Linked DNA regions of Homo sapiens: regions 1, 2, 4 and 5 are each linked to region 3. Evidence: promoter capture Hi-C in human tissues and cell types (Jung and others, 2019). All regions are on one chromosome and are shown on one strand. The core of a region is centred on a gene start or on the middle of the fragment in contact, and the rest is flanking DNA. Distances in the headings are between cores, read along the strand shown. Region 1 has its middle 56 kb from the start of LPAR1. Region 2 has its middle 5.5 kb from the start of MIR4668. Region 3 holds the start of PTGR1 (prostaglandin reductase 1). Region 4 overlaps LINC02977 (long intergenic non-protein coding RNA 2977). Region 5 has its middle 52 kb from the start of MIR4668.

Region 1 (2,700 bases), core at 14-2,513, 500 kb after region 3:
CGGTTTATGAAAAAATTATTGTGTTCCCCCTTAGGATTTCCACCTTCCCCACCCCTCCCTTGTTACACCCTCACGGTGGGTGAGTACTCGTGTTTCTTCAATTTTCTGGTCCCAAGCATGCCTGGGATGAACTTCATGCCCAGTTAGCTTGTCATATCACATTACTTTGCTCAGACATGGGCTAAGCTGGCTTTCTAAATAAGACATCAAGTCCAGAAAATTTAAACACATGTGGGGGTCATAGGAAATCTGTTTAAAACAAACACTTTGGTGCACATGGAAACAAGAAGTTTAATGACATTGTCTAACAAAGCCGTCTGGAAGGACTCCTCAGAGCTCTCAAATGGCTCTTGGTTATCAGTTGCTGGGAACGTCCCAACTGGCAGGAAGCACATCAGTTTTATGGCATGTAGGGGCTGTTAGACGGAAGGATTTTAGAATTTCACTCCGTGTTTAACTCCATAGGGATAGATACTTCATGCTTCTCTCTGTGATATAACAGAATCTTGTTTTTCAAAAAAGCAGTCCTAATAATAAATTCATACCAGGGCTATTTGATTTGACCTTTATCTTTTCCCAGTTTGTGCTAACATGGGTCTTGTCTAAGTTCTGTAAGTGAACCCCATTGCTCTTCTCCTAAAGTTGTTCCAGCAAATGATATAACCAGGCAAGCCTTACCTCATGATTTTTATGCCTCCTGTAGGATATGACATGCAAGTTTCCTGACTCCCTTGCCTGTCTAAATCCTCTGGGTTCTTTCTTGTGATAAAGGTCTCAGCACAGTATTCCACACATTTCATGCTCTCCTCTTCACAGAAACAGGTTGAAAAAGACAGCATGCTTTCAGGAGAGTCTCATTGAGAGAAGATGGACAGGGGGTAGTACATAAAATGCTAATTGAAAGAATAATGGTACTATTCTTGAAAGCTATAAGCAATTTTCTTCATGCTGAGAAGTGACAAGGGAAGATTTACAAATTCAAAGAATCTGACTTTGTTGACTTTAGAAAATCTCACTGTATCCCTTTTGCTAAGACGCCAGAGAAAAGGGCCTTTTGCCATGATTCCAATAAGTGTGTCCTGCTCTAGTTATAATAGTCCCACCTCCCGGTCCATGCTGAGTCACTGCTAAAGTTTTTAGTCATGGACAGTCAGAAGCAAGTCTGTGTAAACTCTCCTGGCCCCTCCTGGCTTCACCATCTCTTCCTCTTTCTCTAACTCTACTTCTCAGAAGACAATGCTCTTTGGTTTCTAATTTTCTAGAATCCAGAATACTCCCTCCCCTTTAGGGAAGTGAAATAGGGACTCTGGGGATATTCCACCCCCTGACCATCAAAGACACAGGGAAGGGGTCATCCTGTGGCTAAAAGCCAGGGGAGATCAGAACCAAGGCCAAGGTTGAATTTCTCTCTGAACTAACCCTCAACTCTGACCTAGAAAGTCCCCCTTTTGAGGTTCTTTGTCATAGATACAGCAACAGCAATGCAGAATCCCACAGAGAGGTCACAATGTTCTTGTTCTTCCCATTAATACAGGCCAGGATCAGGGGCTTTAATTTTGAGATGAACCTCTCACACTTATCTTAGTAAATCTTGTTGCTGAAGTAGGTCCCCGATAAATAAACTCTTGAGTTTAATCAAATATTAAAATGAGGCTGGGTACAATGGCTTACACCTATAATCCCAGCACTACGTGAGATGAAGATAGGAGGATTGCTTGAGCCCAGGAGTTCAAAACCAGCCCAGGCAACATAGTGAAATCCTGTCTCTACCAAAAAAACAAAAACAAAAACAAAAACAAAACAAAACATTAAAATGGCAATTATTCCTTTGTATCTTTCAGAACTAATCTCAGAAGCGTCACTGAGTGTGGAGTAACATGCCCTTTAACTCTGTGTGGCTGAATATTAAGACAATGTTCTCTATTTTTCTATGCAACCTACAAGTATTGTTAAATGTTGATTATATGAGAGCTTACAGAGGGAGCTCTAAACAAGAAATGCCTGCCCTTAAGTATAGACAACACCTTTTGGGAAAGAAGGCACACATATTTGAAAAGATGAGAGAGAGCAAAAAGTATAAGCGAGGGAGTCACCCCCGTGGGCTAAAGTGGTCATGGACAGCTTTGGAGAGAGGTTTTGGAGAAACCTCTGGGGACTTGGTGTTCAGGGGCACCCTTATAGGGGTGTGGAAGGGTGATATATGCAATCCTGATACCATCTCTGTAGATGCAGAAGTGGATTATATATGACATGTATGATCATGTATGTGTGTATGTACACACATGTATGTATGTGTCACAGATGTTGGACTCTATAAAGGCTAAACAATGACTTACATCAGATTTTTAATTAGGAATTTAACTTTAATAGTTATTCAGATTTTCATTTTTTTGCATCAGTTTTGGGAATTCATTTATTTCAGCTAAATTGTCAAAGTTATTGACATAAGCGATTTCTAATGATTTCTTCTTCTTCTTCTCCTTCTCCTTCTCCTCCTCCTCCTCTTCCTCCTTTTTCTTCTTCATCATCAATTTTTGAGACAGAGTCTCACTCTGTCATCCAGAGTGCAGTGGCACAATCATGGCTCACTGCAGACTTGACTTGCTGGGCTCAAGTGATCCTCCCACCTCAGTCCCCCAAGTAGCTGGGACTACAAGTGCTTGCCACCATGCCTGGAAAATTTTTTAAATTTTTCATAGA
Region 2 (2,700 bases), core at 67-2,566, 340 kb before region 3:
GAAGGGAGAGAAACTTTCAGGGCAAGGAAACAGCATGGGAGCAAGGAAGCTCTGGTTCCACACGGAAAAGGGTCGGCTGGTGAGAGTGAGCCATTGGGTTGGGGGTGGAGAGCTCAGGCTGGAGAGATGGTGATGTGAAATGAGAATAGAAAATTAAGGACCACCTTTTCCTGGGCTTGGAGTAAGGCTGAGGAACATGGGGTCAGAGGAAGAAGCTGAAGTCAGAAGTCAAGCTCCAAGTCAATGTAGAGACAAAGCAGGAAGTAAAACAAGCAATATAACCAAAAATAAGCGAATCAGAACAAAATGAAAAAGGGCAGACTGTGGGCAGGGCTAGGGTGCCCACAGCTGCTTCCGGGATGCCGATTATGCTGTTGGGAGACAGTCTAGGATAAAGTCAGGAGACTGGAAGATGGGGATGGACAATTCCCCTTCATCGTCTCTTAATGACCCAACTTCTTAGGACATTTCTCACAAATTCAAGTCAGGCTTAGTTTTTTGGCTTAGTATTACTGGGACCTTGGGTGGAAATGCATCGTTGTTGCAGTTTCCAAATATCTGTGCCCATCGCTTTCATGTCTTTTTCACACGCAGCCAAACCTAAAGCATCTGACTTCTGCTTCTTCCACTCTGATGAACTGGCTTCCTGGGAGCTGCCTTTCTTAAACTGTTTCCTTGGCATCAGAGTCATATGGGTGCTCTCAGGGTCAGGAGCAATTTCTGTCTTTGAAAGTCCCACCCCTTTGTCTCTCACTGTAGAAAATATATCACTGTGTAAAACAAGAAAAATCGTTCATAAAGAAGCTGTATTACTCCCACGCAGACACTTCATCTATCAACGTCTGAGACAATTCACTATGGCGGAGACCCACGCTGGCAACTCTACAGGGAGTTTCCTGCCCCAGAGTTCACCAGCCTCTTCTCATCCTTTACGGTCAACGGCCCCTCCCGTGACCACTTCCTTCTTGAAATCTCTCTTTCCAAGGCTACTGTGGCACTCCTTTTACTATTTCTTTCTTCTTTGGGAGGAAAAAGGCACTAACTGTCCCTATGCTCATGTACATGACCTCATCGAATCATCTCTACCACCTCAGGTGCTTTAGTATCTCCATTCTACATGGTTAAGAAAGCTTGGCTCAGAAAGATGAAGGAAGCTTCCTAAAGTCCCATAGCTACCAAAAAGCCCATTTGGACCCCAGGTTTGGCAGCCTCTTTTCCTAGATGTTTTTCTTCCATTGTCTCTCTAAATGGCACTTTGACTTTAGTTATAGTCACTGTCTCAGCCATCACCTCTAGGGAAATTACTCCCAAGTCACCACTTCTAACCCATTCCTTTCCCCTGCTCCAGAGCTGCACAATAAATAGTCTGCTGGATTTCTCCAGCATGTTCCTTAGGCTGGCCTGGTGTCCGTCAGTCATGAGGGGAAATGATAGAGGTTTCACATCTGGTGACAAGGGTTGGGAAACAAAGGTGGCATGACCGCAATGGGGTGTGCAGGCAGCAGAGGAGGGGTGCAGATACTCTCAGTCCTGTAGAAGAATAAATGATATCCCTAAATTGCTTAAATTAGATAATTACAAGTCCATGCTATTAGCATGGATGTCTTAATGATGATTAGTCTAAACAGCACAACCACATGAAACCATTCCAGACACCCACAGTCTCTGCCAATTTCTCTCGGAACTGAGGAGGGGCCATGTGAAAGGCTTAGCACATTTTGGTTCTTAGGAAACTAGCTGCTTAGGGATCTCTTAAAGATATGTATTTTTGTTTTTAGAAAATACTAGGATAGTGATTTTAAACTTTTTTCTAGGTATCAATATTTTTAAAGCAAATTACCCAACTAAACACATATCCTTGCAGCTCTGCAGAGACAGGTACTCACCATTTTGCGGTTTGCTTTCTTTTCACCGAAATGAACTTGATATGGTCGTAAACTATAACTTGAAATGAATAAATAAATAACTCAAGCACTAGATCCTGATAAACTTCAGAAGGAAAGGTCTGAACTATTTCCATTCTCATGAACACAGTCTTGTGGTATGCATCAATCTTATCAATCATGTATGTAAAGCATTTCACTTTAAATGAGCTTTATAGTAATTTACATTCTTGTTCTACAGGTTTGAATCTGGTTCTCTAGAACAATTTTTGAGTTAGGATACAGATGGTTATTAAAACTGTGATATTTTTCCCCCTTAAGGTCTAGGTAAATTTTCAAGCCAGTGTAAGCATAAATTTAAATGTGGTCCAGCGGAGAAATATACCACACTGGGACCAGATAGAGGGGCTACTCCCAGCTCTGCCACCAGCACCATGCCTACCTAACCCTATGATCACAGCTCTCACCGTGGGTGTCTCAGCTTCTTCATTCTAAAATAAGGGTGAGGGATCCTCAAGATCCACCTAGCTATGAAATTCTAAGACATACTCAACTTTGTGTTGATCATTTCTTAAACTGTAGGGTTAGAAGTACACAAATGAGAAGGAATGTTTGTTTACTGGGCCAGATCCCTTTTAGACTGTGTCTTACGGCTCCGATAACAGAATACCATAGACTGGGTGGGTTATAAACAACAAAACTTTCTCAGTTTTGGAGGCTGGAATGTTTAAGATCAAGGCCCTGGCAGATTTAGTGGCTAGTAAAAGCTGACTTTCTGGTTCATAGCTGGTCACCTTTTTGCCGTATCCTCACATGG
Region 3 (2,700 bases), core at 83-2,582:
GAACTGTGTCTTCCCCAATTTCATGTGTTAAAATCCCCAAGTCCCAGTACTCAGAATGTAACTGTATTTGTAGATAGGGCCTTTAAAGAGGTAATTAAGGTTACATGAGGCCATATTAGTGAGCCCTAATCCATTTGACAGTATTTGAAGACAAGGCCTTCAAAGACGTGTTTAAGTTAAACGGAGGCTGACAAGTGGGGCTCTAATCCAATATGGCGGGTATCCTTACAAGGAGAGACATTGAGCCAGGTGTGGTGGTGGGCCTGTAATCCCAGCTTCTAGGGAGGCTGAAGGAGGATCACCTGAGTCCAGGAGTTCAAGGCTGCAATGAGCTATGATGCCCACCATTGCACTCCAGCCTGGGTGACAGAGCAAGACCTCAAAATAATTAAAATTAAATAAATAAATTAAAGACATTGAATCTTCACAATGACTGGAAGTTAGGCATTCTTCTTATCCCCATCTTGCAGATGGCTGAACTGAGTGAGGCAAGGAGAAGGTAAGTAAGTCTTTGAAAGCTACACCACTAGTAAGTGGCAGGTGCAGGCTTCGAACCTGCAGTCGTCTAATACCAACGACTTAGCTTCACGTTCAACCCCTGCCTGAGACCACCTCTCCTTGCAGAAGCCAGGTCAAGGCCTGATGTTTGCTAGGGTGTGATGGGTGGGGTGCCTCAGTGGCAAGAGTGCTCACTCCTGCCTGGGGGAGTCTGGCAAGGGTTCACAGAGGTGACCTTGAATTGGCTGGTGGAAGGCGAGTAGGTGTTCAGCAGGCGGACTGGGGACAGACAGGCAGGGTGTCTGCACCGCAGCCCTGGGCGAAAGCTTGCACTGCGGGCAAGCGGCAGGGCTGACGGGGAGCCCAGGGATCGGAGCCAGCACCGGGGGCTTATTAGGGCTGCGGCCGCCCCAGGCCCTGCCTTTGGACCCTTCCGGCCTGCTTGGCAGATGCCACGGTTGGTTCCCCCACGGGGCATATTTCCGCCGGGCTCCAACTTAGGACCCCAGGCGGAGGTCCAGTGTCAGCTGGACAAAGCTCTGTTAGGAATTTTCCTATCAGGAGTCCCTAACCCCCTACACGCACACACACGGGCGCGCGGGCGCGCACGCACACACACGCACACATGCACACATACGCGCGCGCACATGCACATAGGCACACAGAGATACGCGCACACACACACACAAACGCACTCAGATTTCCCGGACCCTGGTTTTCCTCCTGTGACCCTTTCGGGGCCGGGCTCTCACCCTAAAGAAGCAGCCCCGCCCTGGGGTGGCCCCACCCTCTCTTGGGACCTGTCATAAGTCGGACCCCGGGCGCCCGGCTGCGCAGTCCCAGCCGCCTTCCCCAGGCAGTGGAACCTTCGGGCTCCTGTAAGTAGACCTCCTGCTTTCTTTCCTTCCCTTTTCTCCCTCCTCTAACCCCCTTGCTTTCTTCCTGCCAAGTTTCTAGACGCCCCAGTGGAGGAGGTTTGCTCTTAGACCTCCTCCCCTTACGTCGAAATGACCGCTGGGTCTTGCACTCGGAGGATCTTGGGAGCCGACGTCCCGACGCCTCCCGCCCCCGCAGTTCCTTGGAGAGCTTGGAGCCGCGCGCCGGAGGGAATAGGAAAGCTTGGTTACAACCCGGGACACCCGGTAGCTTCCTGCACCCGGGAGGGGGCTGGCCAGGGAACTTGCTGGACTGCACAACTGGGGGAGGGTAGAAGAAGAAAGATCGGGGTGGGGATTCGGGAATGGGCAAGCGGGCGGCGGGCGGCGGGAGGCGAGGGTGGGAGCAAAGGGCGAGCGGGCAAAGGCCGGGCGCCGCGCCAGGCCCCCTCCTCGGGCGGGCGAGACTTTCCCGGGACCTGGCCCCTCTGCGGCCAGACCCTTTCCAGGAGGGCTTCTGGACTTGTAGCGAGTTTGGAAGCCCAGCGGTTGCTTTTTTGGGGAAAGGGACAAAGATGTGTGAACTCTAAAGAAGTTGAACTCATAGAAATAACGACTAGAATGATGGTTGCCAGAGGCTGGGAGCGGGTTCGGGGGGGAATGGGGGCTTGTTGGCCAAAGGGTACGAAGTTCAGAGACGAGAGGAGTAGGTTCTGAGATCTGTTGCACAGCAGAGTGACTAGAGCCAATAATGTGTATTTCGAAATAACAGAGTAAACTGCAAATGTCTCACCGTAAAAATGATACGTAGGGCCTGGCGCGGTGGCTCACGCCTGTAATCCCAGCACTATGGAAGGTCGAGGCGGGCGAATCATTTGAGCTCAGGAGTTCTAGACCAGTCTGGCCAACATGGGGAAACCCCGTCTCTACTAAAAGTACAAAAATTAGCTGGGCGTGGTGGCGGGCGCCTGTAATCCCAGCTACTCAGGAGGCTGAGACAGGAGAACCGCTTGAACCCGGGAGACGGAGGTTGCAGTGAGCTGAGATCGCGCCATTGCACTTCAGCCTGGGCGACAGAGCGAGACTCCGTCACAAAAAAAGTCTTAATTTTAAAAAAAGAAAAGAAGGAACAACCCCGGGCTGCAGATCAGACCGCCCCCCTGGCTCCCTCGCAATGCGGGAGTGCTCCCTCCAGGTCACCGTGTCCCCTCCCGCGGCACCGGTAGGGGAGCTGGGGAGATCACTGGCAGCTCCAAATGGTTTCGTAACTGGATTGTTTGTAGCGGATGCACCCGCGGGAAGGCGCAGGTCCCAAGTGATTCGGCAG
Region 4 (2,700 bases), core at 169-2,668, 430 kb before region 3:
AGTATGGTTTCAAAGGAGTGAGACTGGAAGCATAAAATTCAGTCCTTCCTGTTGTTAATGTAGCATTATTTATTAGCAGATTGGACCTCTGACAGAAATAAACTGATATCATTTGCTTTAATTTTGATGCTGAATTTCCCCTGTGATTGAGAAATCAGTTTAACCTTCATTTCACAACATCCAGCAACACCTTACCCAGCTCCTTCAGTGATGGAGTTTTTATACTACACAGTGGTTCAGAGTGACAAGCATAACAACAGAGTGATTAAGTACAAGAGGCCAGCAAGGGCCACACAGGTGAAGTCTGAGCTGGCCTCAAAGGGTTAGTAGGGTTTTTTTTCAGGCAGAGACGACTAGGAGGGAAATTCCAGGAATGGGGTGTGTGTGTGTAAGAATGTAAACAAAGGCATGAAACAGCACAAAGAACAACATTAAAGATTGAAATAGAGGGACTAGAGAGGAAGGTTCTAATGAAAAGGAGATGTTATCAAAATAAAAATAAAGAATTTGACAGTGCATTGGATTGGCTGACTGTTGGGGGGCGGTGCAAGGAAGTGGGTAAAGGAAGGGGACAATTTGCTTATGAAGTCTTTCAAAACAACATTTAAAAAAACATCTTCTAGACAAACCGTAACTCTAATGAGACTTCCCCAAAACATACTAGATATTCAACGGAATTATAGTTGTCCTTCTAAGTAGTTTCTTTGAAAGACTAAATGCATATTCCAGTGACACTATTAGTATTAACATTTTTTTTTTCAGAAGTTACCTTTGGGAATTGCCTTCGGAGTGTTTATGAGCTGCAAAAGAACATCAATTAGTCTTATTACTTTACAGTTTTCTCTGTCTATGTAGGGTAAAAACATTATATATCCATATAAAATATATATCATTAAAACTTAGCCTGTTGGACATTTCTTTTTTTATTTTTAATTGTAACTTTTGTGGGTACATGGTGTACATATTCATGGAATGCATGAGATGTTTTGATACAGGTGTGCAATGTGTGATAATCACAACATGGAGAATGGGGTATCTATCCCCTCAAGCATTTATACTTTGTATTATAAACAATCCAATTATACTCTTTTAGTTATTTTTTAATGTACGATTCAATTATGATTGACTATAGTCACCCTGTTGTGCTATCAAATACTAGGTCTTATTCAGTCTTTCTAAATTTTTGGTACCCATTAACCATTCCCACCCCTCTGCCCTTCCACCACTCTTTCCAGCCAGTTGGACATTTCTTTTATAAACTGAAGTATGTGGCGAATGACTTTTAACCATTTCCGAAAATCAAACACGATGTAAAAATATTACACTTGTGGACTCAGAATACCAAAAATATGTGTTTCCAGCCCTGATGGCAATCTTCAAAGAGGGATTGCAGCATACCTGGAGTAGCCACAGCACCGTTGTCAGCACTGAGCCCACACAAGTGACTGTTGACACAGGGACCGTATTCTGTGTATATCTATGTTCTGAGAATATTTTGTTGTTGTGGTGGTGGTTGGAAAAGCTTTTATATGACAGTTTATGGCTCACAGTGGTGTCTGGCTGGTGGCCTTCAATGCAATGACTCATAAGAACCTCTCCTTCAGTCACCCTTGAAGACCCAACAAAGCTGGGGAAAGGAGGGGAATTTCCCGATACCATTGACAATGAAGATGGACAAGCTAACGGCAGAACCTCAGAAGGATCTGACTTCAGATATGCACGCAGCGTACCCTGGCTTCATTTCACAAAAACAGTACCCTTTTGCAAAGGGAGGAAGTGACTTTCTCATGACCCGAACCAGAAAATAGGCAGCCACGGGACTCTATGCACTGATTCCACCTTGGGGAGCAGGCAGAACATGTCCCCTTTGTGACCACGTTCACTGGCATCTTTCTGGATCCAGATAGAGTGCAAAACTTAGAAACAGCTGAGTGGTACGCAGAGGGGGTACAGGTACAGATCATACCGTGCAGGCAGGTATGACCCTACAATAAACTGCCCAAGATATGTGTTGTATATGTGTTGTGTGTATTTGAGTTGAGTGCATTGGGTGCATGTTTGTATATACATGTGTGTGCGTATGTGTGTGTGTGGTGTGTATGTGGTGTGTGTGTGAGAGCTGAGTGCATTGTGTCTATGTTTGTGTGTACATTTGTGTGTGTTGTGTGTGGGGGGTGTGTGTGTGAAGGGCACTGGCCCTTACTCCTGGTAAGAGTGAGTAATAGCAACTGCCATTGGTTATACCTCCTTCCTTCAACTTCAGAGTATGGGAGAGTAGTTCAGTAGAGACAGGAGAAAACGTTTCCTCAGCTGAAGACCTATACTTTTTTATTTGGGAAGGGGGTGATTTATTCTAAATAACTACACAACTCTTTTTATATTAGGGAAGCCACAAGCTGCTTGTTATCTATATTGCACATATTTCTCCATATTTGCTCTTTGTCTTGCAACTTTATTTATAAGACTTTTGCTTGTTTTTGCCATGGGAAAGTTTTCATTGTTACTTAGTCCAGGTTACTGATCTTTTGTTTGTGATTACTGAATTTCATGATGTGCTCAGAAAGACTTTCCACCCAAGATTTAAAAATATTTATCCATTTCTTTCCTAGCTCTCATGCAATTTTAGCCGTACTTTAAAACATTTGTTGCATTTGGAATGTATTTGGTGTAATGAATGAAACAAGAACCCGCATTGTATTT
Region 5 (2,700 bases), core at 189-2,688, 380 kb before region 3:
CCAGGTGGTATCAGTTTCAGGTGACCTGTGAGTTCCCTGGAGGCAGAGTGGTTGAGGTCATATGGTATCAAGGCTGACGGGGGGACAGGGGACTGATGGATCATGAGGACTTGTTCCTTGAGTCTGTAGCTCAGTGGTTGTTCTTCAGGACAGGGACCCTTTTAGTCAAGGCCTGGAAGGGAGTCTTTTCAGAGGAAGGAGGTGTGAATTAGGGAGACGTGGAGTGAGGGAGAGGAGTTCATTACCTCCACCAGACCATGAGCTCCCTGAGAGCTGGGCCAGAGACTGGACTCCTTTGAGGATCCAGTGAAGAGTGTTTTCTTTCTGGCACAAAGGCTGGGGTGATTCTGCGGACACAAGCAGGTGCCCTGGTATTTATTGCAAGTGCCAGATGCCAGATTCTAATTGGGATCAACATCTTCCTCACCAGCCTGAAGTTCTGCACAGATGTTGGTTTTCCTTCCCTAGAGAGGGCTCACTAATCGTTAGACCCAAAAGGAAACCCTTGTAGAGACCTCCTTCCTTCCTCCACCCCTCCACTTTATAAGAGGATGTGGCTGGCTGGGCACGGTGGCTCGCACCTGTAATCCCAGCACTTTGGGAGGCCGAGGTGGGTGGATCACCTGACGTCGGGAGTTCGAGACCAGCCTGGCCAACATGGTGAAACCCTGTCTCTACTAAAAATACAAAAATTAGCCAGGCGTGGTTGTGCATGCCTGTAATCTCAGCTACTCAGGAGGCCAAGGCAGGAGAATCACTTGAACCTGGGAAGCAGAGGTTGCAGTGAGCCGAGATCACACCACTGCTCTCCAGCCTGGGTGACAGAGTGAGAGTGAGACTCTATCACTCTGTAAAAAAAAAAAAAAAAAAAAAAAGAAGATGTGGTCATGGTGGGAGGGGTGTGTGGGGCCTCTACCACTTAGTGGCTGGGTAACTTTGGGCAAATTACCTTCCTAAGCTTGTTTTTTTTTTTTTTTTTTTTTCATTTTAAAGGTGAAAAGAATAATGTGACAAGCCTTGTAGGATTGTTATGAGCATCAAACGAGTTAATGAAGATAAAGTGTTTGATACAACAATGTCTGGTTAAACAAGGTCAATGCTCAGTACACCTTAGTTATGATTGGCACCTCCACAAGGGAGTAGGTATGGCTGAACATCTGATCCTCTGTGTCTTGGTCTGGGAAAACCCTGGATCCTGAGTAGCAAATGAGTGGGAAGAGTCCCAAGATGGTGCCAGGAAGGATGCAACAGGCAATGAACTTCCCTATCTCGCCCACCCCAATTATGACATCATCACGCTGATGGGGATTGTGTCCCCACAATGTGGCAGGAATGTACAAGGAGGAGCATCCTTAGAGGCCCAGTGCTGCTCACACCCTGCCCCTGTCTCAGCCTTCAGGGCACCCCAAGTTTGCTGTGCTCTAAGAAATGGGGAAGCACAAATTTCCAGAAAAAGCATAGCGAAGTCAACCCGAGGAGGTTGATAGAGGTTGGTGAGAATTAACTTTTGCCCAAAGAGAGACGCATGGGCTGGAAGAAAGAGAAGAGGCAATTTGTTTTGCAAATCGGGGACCTGGACCTGTCATCAAGTTTCCCACCGTCCAAAGGGGGGTTCATGGCTCATTTTCATGGGACACATGGGCTCGGGATGGGAGTGAGGAAAAGGTGACAGATACACATCTGGGTTCACACTGCTGTGGCTGCTCAGAAGGGAAGGAAAGCAGCCTCTTCTGTTTGGGGCATGGTAGGCCCAAGCCTTCTGAACTGCCCACCCAGCAGAGAAAACAGGCAGGAAGAGAAACTGAACAGAGAAGTGGAGGAGGAAGCTCACACCATGTGGTTGGTGCTGCTGTTGGTTTTACACTGCCAGAGCTAATAACCAGGTGTATTCATGAGGCTTCTGCCTTTTGATAACCTCAGACTGGGCCACATCTTCTGACTTGGCCATAAATGGGGAAAGGGCCTTACCTAAGGTCGGTACTGAGTCAGAGGTAGGACCTGGGCAGGAGGCCTTTCAGCCGTGGTGCCTGCAGGTGGAAAACCCCAGCAGCCCTTTCTCCTGCTCAACCCCCCTCTCTCTCAGGACATAGAACAAGTAGTGGTTTCTCAGTCTCCAGCCAGCTCTATGTTCCTTTCCTCCCTATGCTGCAGGTGTTCCTTTCCTCCCTCCATCACATGCTATCACCACTTGCTCTGTGTCCTGGGACAACTCTCCCCATTCAGAGCCTGATCACAGGGCAGAGGGAAATCTTCCCATCTTCCTCCTCCAGAAAACCAACACACAGACCCTCTTCTCCTTACTGATTTTATTGCTACTCACTAAAGAGAAGTAGAAAAGATCACAAAAAGCAACACATCTACGTGTTAAAAACGTAAGCAGTTTTTTCCTCTCTGATCTCTGATCTGATTCATTTGTGTATTCATTCATTCATTCATTCATCTGTCCATCCATTCATTTGTCCATCCAATGAGTATTTATTAAGCATCTGCTTTGTACCAGGGAGTGTCCTGAGCCGTGAGGATGCAGCAGTGAAAAAGACAGATGCAGACATGGTCCCTGCCCTCCAGTGGGTCTTGACTCTTGCCTTGACACAATCATGGGAGCCTGTCGACTTCTGCGCTCTGAAGTCCTCATCCCATGTAGGAGCTGAAGACAGTGCCTACAAGAGCCCACATTTTAGGGCAAAGGCAAGAATAGAC

The links. Contacts are between HindIII fragments. The study calls those that stand out against the background at their distance.
Region 1: a fragment that was not itself captured here is called in contact with the fragment with the promoter of PTGR1 in region 3 in 1 of the 25 tissues and cell types used here (IMR-90 fibroblasts).
Region 2: a fragment that was not itself captured here is called in contact with the fragment with the promoter of PTGR1 in region 3 in 1 of the 25 tissues and cell types used here (lymphoblastoid cells).
Region 4: a contact is called between a fragment that was not itself captured here and the fragment with the promoter of PTGR1 in region 3, in 1 of the 25 tissues and cell types used here (ovary).
Region 5: a contact is called between a fragment that was not itself captured here and the fragment with the promoter of PTGR1 in region 3, in 1 of the 25 tissues and cell types used here (lymphoblastoid cells).

Annotation. Positions count from the first base shown.
Region 1 is chr9:111,093,231-111,095,930 of GRCh38, reverse strand. No RefSeq gene overlaps it. Among named protein-coding and RNA genes, the nearest start is that of LPAR1, 56 kb to the right of the region's middle. The HindIII fragment of the contact is 5,286 bases long and covers 1-2,700 here.
Region 2 is chr9:111,936,221-111,938,920 of GRCh38, reverse strand. No RefSeq gene overlaps it. Among named protein-coding and RNA genes, the nearest start is that of MIR4668, 5.5 kb to the right of the region's middle. RefSeq lists an enhancer at 727-1,036. The HindIII fragment of the contact is 5,345 bases long and covers 1-2,700 here.
Region 3 is chr9:111,598,279-111,600,978 of GRCh38, reverse strand. PTGR1 (prostaglandin reductase 1) reads left to right here and starts at 1,332. Exons shown (of 10, transcript NM_001146108.2): 1 at 1,332-1,376. RefSeq lists an enhancer at 909-1,481. The HindIII fragment of the contact is 5,410 bases long and covers 1-2,700 here.
Region 4 is chr9:112,027,854-112,030,553 of GRCh38, reverse strand. LINC02977 (long intergenic non-protein coding RNA 2977) reads left to right here. Exons shown (of 3, transcript NR_186812.1): 3 at 763-2,016. Among named protein-coding and RNA genes, the nearest start is that of LINC02977, 11 kb to the left of the region's middle. RefSeq lists enhancers at 1,252-1,381, 1,692-1,741. The HindIII fragment of the contact is 3,770 bases long and covers 1-2,700 here.
Region 5 is chr9:111,982,858-111,985,557 of GRCh38, reverse strand. No RefSeq gene overlaps it. Among named protein-coding and RNA genes, the nearest start is that of MIR4668, 52 kb to the right of the region's middle. RefSeq lists enhancers at 1-289, 1,620-1,719, 2,020-2,079. The HindIII fragment of the contact is 6,595 bases long and covers 1-2,700 here.